2 separate regions of the Homo sapiens genome follow, and region 1 is linked to region 2. Evidence: promoter capture Hi-C in human tissues and cell types (Jung and others, 2019). All regions are on one chromosome and are shown on one strand. The core of a region is centred on a gene start or on the middle of the fragment in contact, and the rest is flanking DNA. Distances in the headings are between cores, read along the strand shown.

What was found. Contacts are between HindIII fragments. The study calls those that stand out against the background at their distance.
Region 1: a fragment that was not itself captured here is called in contact with the fragment with the promoter of NAV3 in region 2 in 1 of the 25 tissues and cell types used here (mesenchymal stem cells).

Annotation. Positions count from the first base shown.
Region 1 is chr12:77,789,208-77,793,725 of GRCh38, reverse strand. It overlaps a transcript of NAV3 not described here. Among named protein-coding and RNA genes, the nearest start is that of NAV3, 39 kb to the left of the region's middle. The HindIII fragment of the contact is 4,909 bases long and covers 1-4,518 here.
Region 2 is chr12:77,828,729-77,833,657 of GRCh38, reverse strand. NAV3 (neuron navigator 3) reads right to left here and starts at 2,764. Exons shown (of 40, transcript NM_001024383.2): 1 at 1,954-2,764. The coding sequence starts at 2,196. The HindIII fragment of the contact is 9,569 bases long and covers 1-4,929 here.

The DNA of each region.
Region 1 (4,518 bases), core at 884-3,383, 39 kb after region 2:
CAATGATAGACTGGATAAAGAAAATGTGGCACATATACACTATGGAATACTATGCAGCCATAAAAAAGAATGAGTACATATCCTTTGCAGGGACATGGATGAAGCTGGAAACCATCATTCTCAGAAAACTAACACAGGAACAGAAAACCAAACACTGCAGGATCTCACTCATAAGTGGGAGCTGCACAGTGAAAACACATGGACACAGGGAGGGAACATCACAAACAAGAGGGCCTGTCAGGGTGTGGGGGGCAAGTGGAGGGAAAGCATTAGGACAAATACCTAATGCATGTGGGGCTTAAAACCTAGATGACAGGTTGATGGGTGCAGCAAACCACCATGGCACATGTATTTGTTACCTATGTAACAAACCTGCAAGTTCTGCACATGTATCCCAAAACATAAAGTAAAATAAAAAAATTAAAATAGAGAAATACTTACCACTTCTTTTTCAAATCTTAAGCAAAATACCACCTTTTCAATGAAATCTTCCTGATCTCAATGTAACATTGCCCAATTTTTTATAACTATACTGCTTTTTTCTTCTAAGGTTAATAGCTATAATATTTTTTATTTACTCATTCACACATGCCATTATTGTTCATATTTTTTCAACTACAGTGCATGCTCTGTATGTATTTTTATTTGCTGTGTGGGTGGGAGAAATTTGGTATTTGCAAGAAGAAAGCTTTTAGCTTCCTGGGATAACTAAGCACGTGGGACCATGGGAAGCCTCTCAGAATATCCCGCACTGAAATCATGCAATGAATTAGCCATGACCCAGCACACTTGAAGGGCCATAGTAACATGTCCACTGAGAGACATGCTTTTCAGTAGTAATTGGGGGATCAGATTATTTACTGGCCAAATCTCCCATCTATTAGTGTGGGCTTCTTAGAGGCAGACATCAAGATGAGATTAAGTGTACAAAGATTTTAAGGGAAACACCCATAAGAGAAAATATAGAGAGTGCCTTCAGATTGTAATACAAGTCTGATCCCAAAGGAACAGAGCAGGAAAGAAGGCTGAAATGAATGTGTCTCAGGCTACTGTGTAATCTAGGGAAAGTTCTGCAAAATTTTCCGGGAGTACTTGAACCAAAATTGCCCATCGAAGGAATCCTGTGTCTTCCAGAAACAGACTTCTCGTGGTATCCCTTAGCCATGCTTGATATGGCTGGGAGCAGCCCCTGGAAAGCATGTGTAAATGTGGCAATGGATTTCAGAGCAGGGCAGCAGGTTCCTTGTATGATGCTCCCTGTAGCTTGTGGTCTGAGTGACACATACTCATGGCCACCATGACTGACATCCAATGCCTTAGAACTACCTGATATTTGGGCACCATGGTAGGTGGGCACATAAAGGAACCTTTAAAAAGGCTTAGGATTAATTCTCCACCAACCTGACAGAATGTGGGTTAAAACAGAAAATAAAATGACTTATAAAGCAAAGGTTGTTTTATTTCTTGCCCACCTGAGTTTGTGAACTGAACTTTATACTTGCTACATGTAGGAGGATACAGCATTCCAAACAGAGTGAAATGCTTTTTAAAAAAATCCAGAGAGTTTTTTAAAAAAGACAGTTTGGAGGAATTGGAAGAAAATAAGTCCAGTTGCAGCATACAGAGTGAGGAAGGGAATAATCACAGATAATGATGAAAGACTTAAAGATGCCTTGTATTTAACAGGCTTTTAGAATAGAAGTACAGTTGTCACTCAATATCCACAGGGGATTGGTTCTGGAACTCCCCCAAATACCAAAGCCATGGATGCTCAAGTCTCTGATATAAAATGATGTAGTATTAACATATAACCTATGCATATCCTTACAGGCATACTTTAAATCATCTCTAGATTACTTATAATAAGTCACAGAATGTGAGTGCTATGCAAATACTTGCTATATTGTATTGTTTGGGGAATGAACAAGAAATAGTCTGTGAATGTTCAGTACAGATGCAGCCATCATAGGCGTAACTATATTTTTATCCATGATTGTTTGAATCTACGAATGGGGAGTCCTTGGATATGGAGGGCTCACTATATATAGAGATGTAAGGAGTGTTAGGCCCTGCCACATGCCTGAAGTCAACAATGGGATAGTGATTACCCTTTGCAGAGCCTCAGTTCCTCTTCTGTAAAATAGGAAAAAAGATAGCACCTATGCCACAGGGGAGTTATATGGTTTAAATGAGACAATATACTCAAACCACCAATATACATTTCTAAGAGCTAAGCCTGTTGGATCTTATCACGGGTCTTGTTTAATAAAGCCAGGAAAATGCCCTATTTTATCATTAGGGCCTATCCATAAGATTGAGTGAAGAAGAAAATAATAATGAAATAAAAGGGAATTTTTTTTTTTTTTTTTTTGAGATGGAGTTTTGCTCTTGTCACCCAGGCTGGAGTGCAATGGTGCGATCTTGGCTCACTGCAACCTCCACCTCCCGGGTTCAAGCAATTCTTCTACCTAAGCCTCCTGAGTAGTTGGGATTACAGGCACCGATCACCATGCCTGGCTAATTTTTGTATTTTTAGTAGAGACGGGGTTTCACCATATTGGCCAGGCTGGTCTCAAACTCCTGACCTTGTGATCCACCCACCTTGGCCTCCCAAAGTGCTGGGACTACAGGCATGAGCCACCGCGCCCGGCCAAATGGAAAATATTTTTATTGTCCTACAGGAACAAAGAAAGCACCAACTTGAGATCAAGCTTCCTGCTTTGTTGTTGTTGTTTCGTTTTCCTTCTCCTTTGAGGGAAAACACTAAAAGGGCATATGCAGAGTAGGGAGGAGAGAGTAGTAAGAGGGACGCCCTTAAAACCATCAGCAGAGGAAAGCATGAAGATACACAGACCTCAGTCAGCAAAGGTCGCCCTGAGTGAAGTGGTCAGGTGAGAGAGGAGAGGCTCTGGTTTGCACTCCTGAATGTTCTTATATTACCTAGACACTGAGTTGAGAGTCACTGGGCCTGCTGAAGTGCCCTCTTGATTATGAATCCCATAGGTTTAGGTAAATGGCCAGGTTCTCAGAGCCAGACAGATGTTGCAGAGTCTGAAAGTCTAGCAAGCCTCCAACATAAGCAAGAGTTAAGAGAAGTCCTAGTAAACTAGGGTACAAAGGTGGGCCCTGATCAAACCATGAAGCCAGATTGCAAATTACACAAGCCATTGATCTCACCTGCAAAGATCAGCAACAAGCTGGACAAGGATCATCATCCTGGAGATCAGAGGAAACAGGTGCTTCTGTATCCAAAACTAATTCTTTCATGACAAGATCATGAAAATTACTCACTCCATGATACCTTATACCCAGAACAATCTAGGAAAGAAGACTAAAATGAGGGCAGATGACTTCAAAATCAGAGATTGAATGTCTTCTCTTAGACATACTGAGTACCACCTAAAGAGCTAGTTGAACATATCGTAACTATTTTTTTTCTGGTGAGTCAAAAGATGTGAAGTTTTGTGAAGAAAACCAGTTTAGTTTAATATGGCATATGCCCACTGTGCATCTCAGTTGTAGTATGAATAAATTTGTTGCTTTTTAAAATTGTTATTTGTATTAGAAATGACAGTAGGGGCACTGAGAGGCTTATCACTGGTAGTGTAAGAGGCTTATTACTGGTAGTGTAAGCTGCTGTGGTGGTAAGAGAAGTTTCACAGGGGTGGAATCTGCCAAACAGACTTGCCACGTCTCAAAAGGTTACTGGGTGCTCACCAGGTAGTCACTAGGTAGATGAGGAAAATATATTCTAGACCAGGGTTTTCCAACCTGCCACCCACATTCGGCCCAGGACAGCTTTGAATGTGGCACAACACAAATTCGTAAGCTCTCTTAAAATGTTATGAGACTTTTTTTGTGAATTTTTTTTTTCTTTTCTCTTGTTCTCTTTTTTTTTTTTTTTTTTTTCTTTTCGAGACGAAGTTTTGCTCTTGTTGCCCAGGCTGCAGTGCAATGGCACGATCTCAGCTCACTGCAACGTCCGCCTCCCAGGTTCAAGTGATTCTCCTGCCTCAGTCTCCCAAGTAGCTGAGATTACAGGCACCCACCACCACACCCGGCTGCTTTTTGTATTTTTAGTAGAGACGGGGCTTCATCATGTTGGCCAGGCTGGTCTTGAACTCCTGACCTCAGGTGATCCACCCGCCTCCGCCTCCCAAAGTTGCTGGGATTACAGGCATGAGCCACTGCGCCCAGTTGACTTTTTTTTTTTTTTTAGCTCATTAGCGATCATTAGTGTTAGTGTATTTTATACAATTATTCTTCCAATGTGGCCAGGAAAGTAAAAAAATTGGACACCCCTGTCCTAGACAGTGGAAACAAGAGGATAAACCAGGCAGCAGGTAATAGCAAGGAGTTTTGGGGAAAAGAAAGAAGTTCAGTAGTAGCTGGAGTGTCATTGGTAAGGGAAGGAAGGGCTAAAGATTAATAAACCAAGTGATGCAGGGAGGAGGCAGCTGTTAAAAGGTTGGTAAGAACTTGGACAAAACAATCAGACATGCATTCAAGGAAATCTCA
Region 2 (4,929 bases), core at 1,515-4,014:
GCAGAGGGTCTAACTGAGCTGATTAACACAAGCCACCTTCATACTGCAAAACTAAAAGAACACACTGTAACACACGCCCACTGGAGCTTCAGGAGCTGTAAATACTCAACCCTAGATGCTGCTGTAGGGTCGAAGCTCCACACCCTGCCCATCTGCATGATCCCTCTAGAGGTTTCAGCAGCGGGGCATTGAAGACGTAAGCCACTCCTGCTGTCACATGCCCTGTGAGGGGGACAAGGAAACATTTCCTGTTTCGAAATGATTCCAAAAGATGAACAAACTTAACTGAATCCTTCTCGGAATAACTATTTATTCATTCATTGATTCATTAATTGCTGTATTCATTCATCCAACTACTATTTAATTCTTATCATGCATAAAGCATTGTACAGGGAGAGAGCTGGAACACAGGATAAGATACGAGACCTGCCTTCTATATGTTTTCAACTTAGTGGAGATACAAATAAATTATCCAGATAATTAAAAGAAATTATCCAGATAATTAAAATACACAAGCATTTCTACAGAAAAAGAATTGGGAAGGAGGAATGGTGGGGAAGGGATAGCTAGCAAAGACTTTATGAATAAAGTTGGATCTGGGATAAAGCTTAAAGGATCTGAACAGGTGAAGGTGGGATGGGCATTGTAGAAAAAGGAGTGGCTTTCTTTTTCACTTCTAGAGTTGATTTTTGTATAAAGGTTTTTTCCTTAAATTATTTTAAACTAACATTTGGATAGCAGAGTAAAATGAAAATATTTCCTAAGAAGCCAGAGACGAGGCTGTGACTTTGGAAAGCTTGACATCATAGTTAATGCTGCATTAAAAAGTGATGCTGAGTAGAATGATGGTTACCAGAGGCTGGAAAGGGTAGTGGCGAGGGGTAGGGGGAGTGTGGATCGTTAATGAGTACAAAAATACATTTAGATAGAATGAATAAGATCTAGTATTTGATAGCACTATAGGATGATTACTGTCAACAATAACTTATTCTATATTTTTAAATAACTAAAAGAATATATAATGTTTGCAACACAAAGACATGATAAATGCTTAAGGCAACAGATACTCCATTTACCCTGATATGATTATTACACATTGTATGCCTGTATCAGAATCTCTCATGAACCACATAAATATATACACCAATATGTACCCATAAATATATACACCTAATATGTACCAATAAAAGTAAAAATGCACAAAACAAAAGTGACGCTTATCAAGGTACAAATGAATCCGCATGAAGTTCAGCAGCTTCAGTGCCATTCTAGCATGCGTGACTGGAGAAAACGGTTGTAGTATGCTTTAGAAACCAAGGGCTATGAGCAACTACTCACAAAATATCATAAATTAAATGACTGAAAAAGATGTCAGTAATAAGTAAAAGAGTAGCGTTTCAGTTTACAAGGGAAAGTCCATATAAATGTGCAGTATCAAGGAAAATAGTATGTCATTTTCCTTCATACTGCAATGAATTAAGCAGCCTATGATACAAATTTTCAAGCAGAAATTCTTTGAAATGCAAATGACATTTAGAGAAAAGTGATGGTGTCTATATGAATTATTACAAATAAATGTCTTTTTGAAAGTACCTATTTTCATACATTGCAGTATGGATGACAATAGGTTCTCTTTTTCTCACATTTGTGACTGATTATGATTATTAGTAATAGAGCAATATCTAGAACTAACTAGGCATTCATCAATAAGTAGTATTAAATGATTACAATAGATGCATATTCAGAAAATTTTGATCATGACTTTTACAACTCTAAACTAAGAATACAGTGTTTACATAAGCTAAATATTCAGCTTTTCAGCCATTATAACTACTTACATCCTTACACTGGTATTCCTCTACTACTCCCCATTTCATAACATGTTTTATAGTGCACTTAAAGAGAAATGTGCATTTTAGCTACACAAGTCTGCAGGTAACTTCAGCAACTAACCTTGCTGTCTTCTTTCTCCTTGGCTTTTCCTTGGAGGGGTTTCTTCTCTCCAAATTCACAGGTTGATTTTAACGCAAGCTGACAAGAAAGCATGGAGCTCTCTGTTTCAGTAAGTTCCAAAGGTCTTGAAGAACAGTGCTGTGACCCAGTAGTGCCAAGATTTGGTATCGGAAGAGCAGTATGCACAGGCTTTGACCCAACAGCTGGCTGCCTCAGTTTTGAGGCAACCCCAAGAACAGGCATGGCTTCTATAAAATTATCTTCTTGCTGCCAAAGAAAATGCTTCTAACCTCAGTCTGGTAGACTCCAACTTTAGTATTTCCAGAACAAATACTTTAAACAAAACTAGCAGTCATCCTGATTTTTAAAAAGCTAATAATATAATTTTCAGGAAGAGGCAAAACTTCCCTGCATCTTTAGTTAAGTATCTTTTCTTTCTTGCTGGCTGGGATTCATATTCATTCTCATTCTCTCTCTCTCTCTCTTTCTCTCTCTCTCTCTCTCTCTCTGTCTCTCTCTCTCTCTCTCTCTCTCTGTCTCTCTCTCTCTCTCTGTTCAGTGACTCAGTATCTAAGTAATACTAAATACTCCTTTGGGGAGTAAACTCTTCTTCAAGGTAACTGCTACAAAGCTCCTTCTTAGGATTAAAGAGCTCTTAGTTTTGCTTATTTTTTTTTCTCACTAAAGCAGTCTGAGTCTGAACTTTGAGATTGAAAAAGAGGAAAAAATCAAAAGGAAAAGCCCTTCAGTCCAACTGTCAGAGCAGCCAAAAGACCACAACAGTGGAAGGACAGGGGTTCTTCCTGATTTCAGAAATAGCCAGCCTGCATTCTCTTTTTAAAGAAAATTGTATTTCCCCCAGCTCAGAAAAAATAAAAAGAATGGACATGTTAATGGCCAAAACAAACAGCTGTTGGAAGAACTTTTAGCCCGGAAACAATCTCAGCAATAAAGTTGTTTGTCTGATTTCCAGCTATTTTTCACTACTGACAGCCATGAGCCACGATGTTCATTCTGTTGCATCCCATGAAATCAGGCTAAAATCATGCAATAGTGCAACTAGCTAAAGCAGTTAAATCATTCATCGGACCATAGCTGCCTAGGTTATGAAAATAGAGTAAACACAGGAAGCAGGGCACTAAATATGTAGTAATCATTGTTCCCAAATTTAATAAGTCATGATTATAAAAACATTCAAAGCTAACACTTATGTGGAATGTATTACAAAGCAGTTATGGAGCTAAGCATTTTATGCATTATCACATTTAATCATTGGAATGACTCAAAGTATAGGCATATTTATTTTCTTCACTTTATAGAAAGAACAGCTATGACTTGGAGACACTGAAAAAATTGACTAAAATGATGAAGCTAGAAAGGGGGAAAGAATGTATGATTTTAGTTTGTAAACCTGTCTTTTAAAATGGTTGAAAATAACACTGTTATTCAAGCTTATGACGTCCAACTTAAAATCCCAAGCTTCTAAAAACTGTCCAAACAGATACTCAGTGAGAATGAATGATGATGCTTCCATCCATAGAATTATTTTAATATAATCATAGCATGTTCTATTTCTGGTTAAAGCATGTCAGGAACTTTAAATAAACAAGGGGTAAACTTTTAAGAAAACATCTAATGTACCATGCATTATTGTTCTGAAACTGATTGCACTCAGAAAATGGATACAGAGAGCAATTATATACACCAAATATAAAAATTAGTAATAATGCAACCAAAGGTCTTAGAAAAATGAGTGGTGGACACTTAGTATAGACACAATGAATCATGGAAATTATTAAATCGTAACCATTTTTTATAGAAAATGTCTTTCTTTAGTGAAGAAATGGTCATCTTTGGCCTACTGTTTCCAGGTCTTTAAATCACTACGTACTTTTATCTAAGAAGCAGTAATTTATAGATGAAAGAGCCAATAACTAAAAGTATATGTTCTGCTGATGCAGCATAGAAGACAGGAAATGTAAGTTAGAAGTCTTGCAGGCTTTAAAAATAGTAACCCAAGTGGGCTTTACACAGCGGGGTAATACAAAACAAATACAACACTAGTGGTATCAAAGAAATGAAATAATCTCTCTGAGGAAGTAAGTTATTTTGCAATTTGCAAACCATTCAACACATTATAACTTTCAGAAACTATAAGGTAATACAGAGTTGGAGAGGTTCATGTTCGTAAAATGAGGTTTAGTTCATAATAAGACATATGCAACTTGTAATCCTCACAATGCAAAACAAAACAGCACCTAAATAATAGAACTTGTGGGAAAAATTGATTCTAGGAAGTTCACTCAAAACATATGCAACTTTGGGAGTATATTGCTAGCAAAAATAATATTGGCACCTCAGAAAATAATTTGGACCACTCAAGGAAGTGACTCAGAATTACATAAAAAAATAATTGGGTATAAATGCTGGCAACACTTTAACCAGAATTGGTGGAAGAAATCCGGTTGGAAGGCAAACTCCAAGCCAGTAGGCTTGCCATTGAAATGGGTACAGGGTCAGGGCAACTGCAAATATTTAAGAGCTGCACAAGGCCAGGGGCATGCCCCTTTGAAGAGGAAGCCCCAGATGCAGGCATTCATTTTTGTTTTTGTTTTTAGTTTTCTTAAAACTGAGCCAAAAGGGCTCCTGCTGACTATACAACATTCAAACTGAGGGCTTCTTTGCCCACCCAAGGTTATAATTCTACGCTGACTATTCTGCTTCCCTTTGCCTAGAATAAATTGTATATAAAGCTACACAACTTCTGCATTATACTAGTACAAAATTCCTGTTTGCCAATTACAAATGAGCTCATTGGTATTTTGGAAACATGCATTGGAGGAGAATGTATCGTAATTCCTGGAACAATTAGATTGAAAAAAAAGGATTCACATTCAATAAGATGTCTTTTCACTTTGAAATACCTTTTGCATATTAGGCAATATCTTTCACTCTGACTGAAATATAAGATGGTAT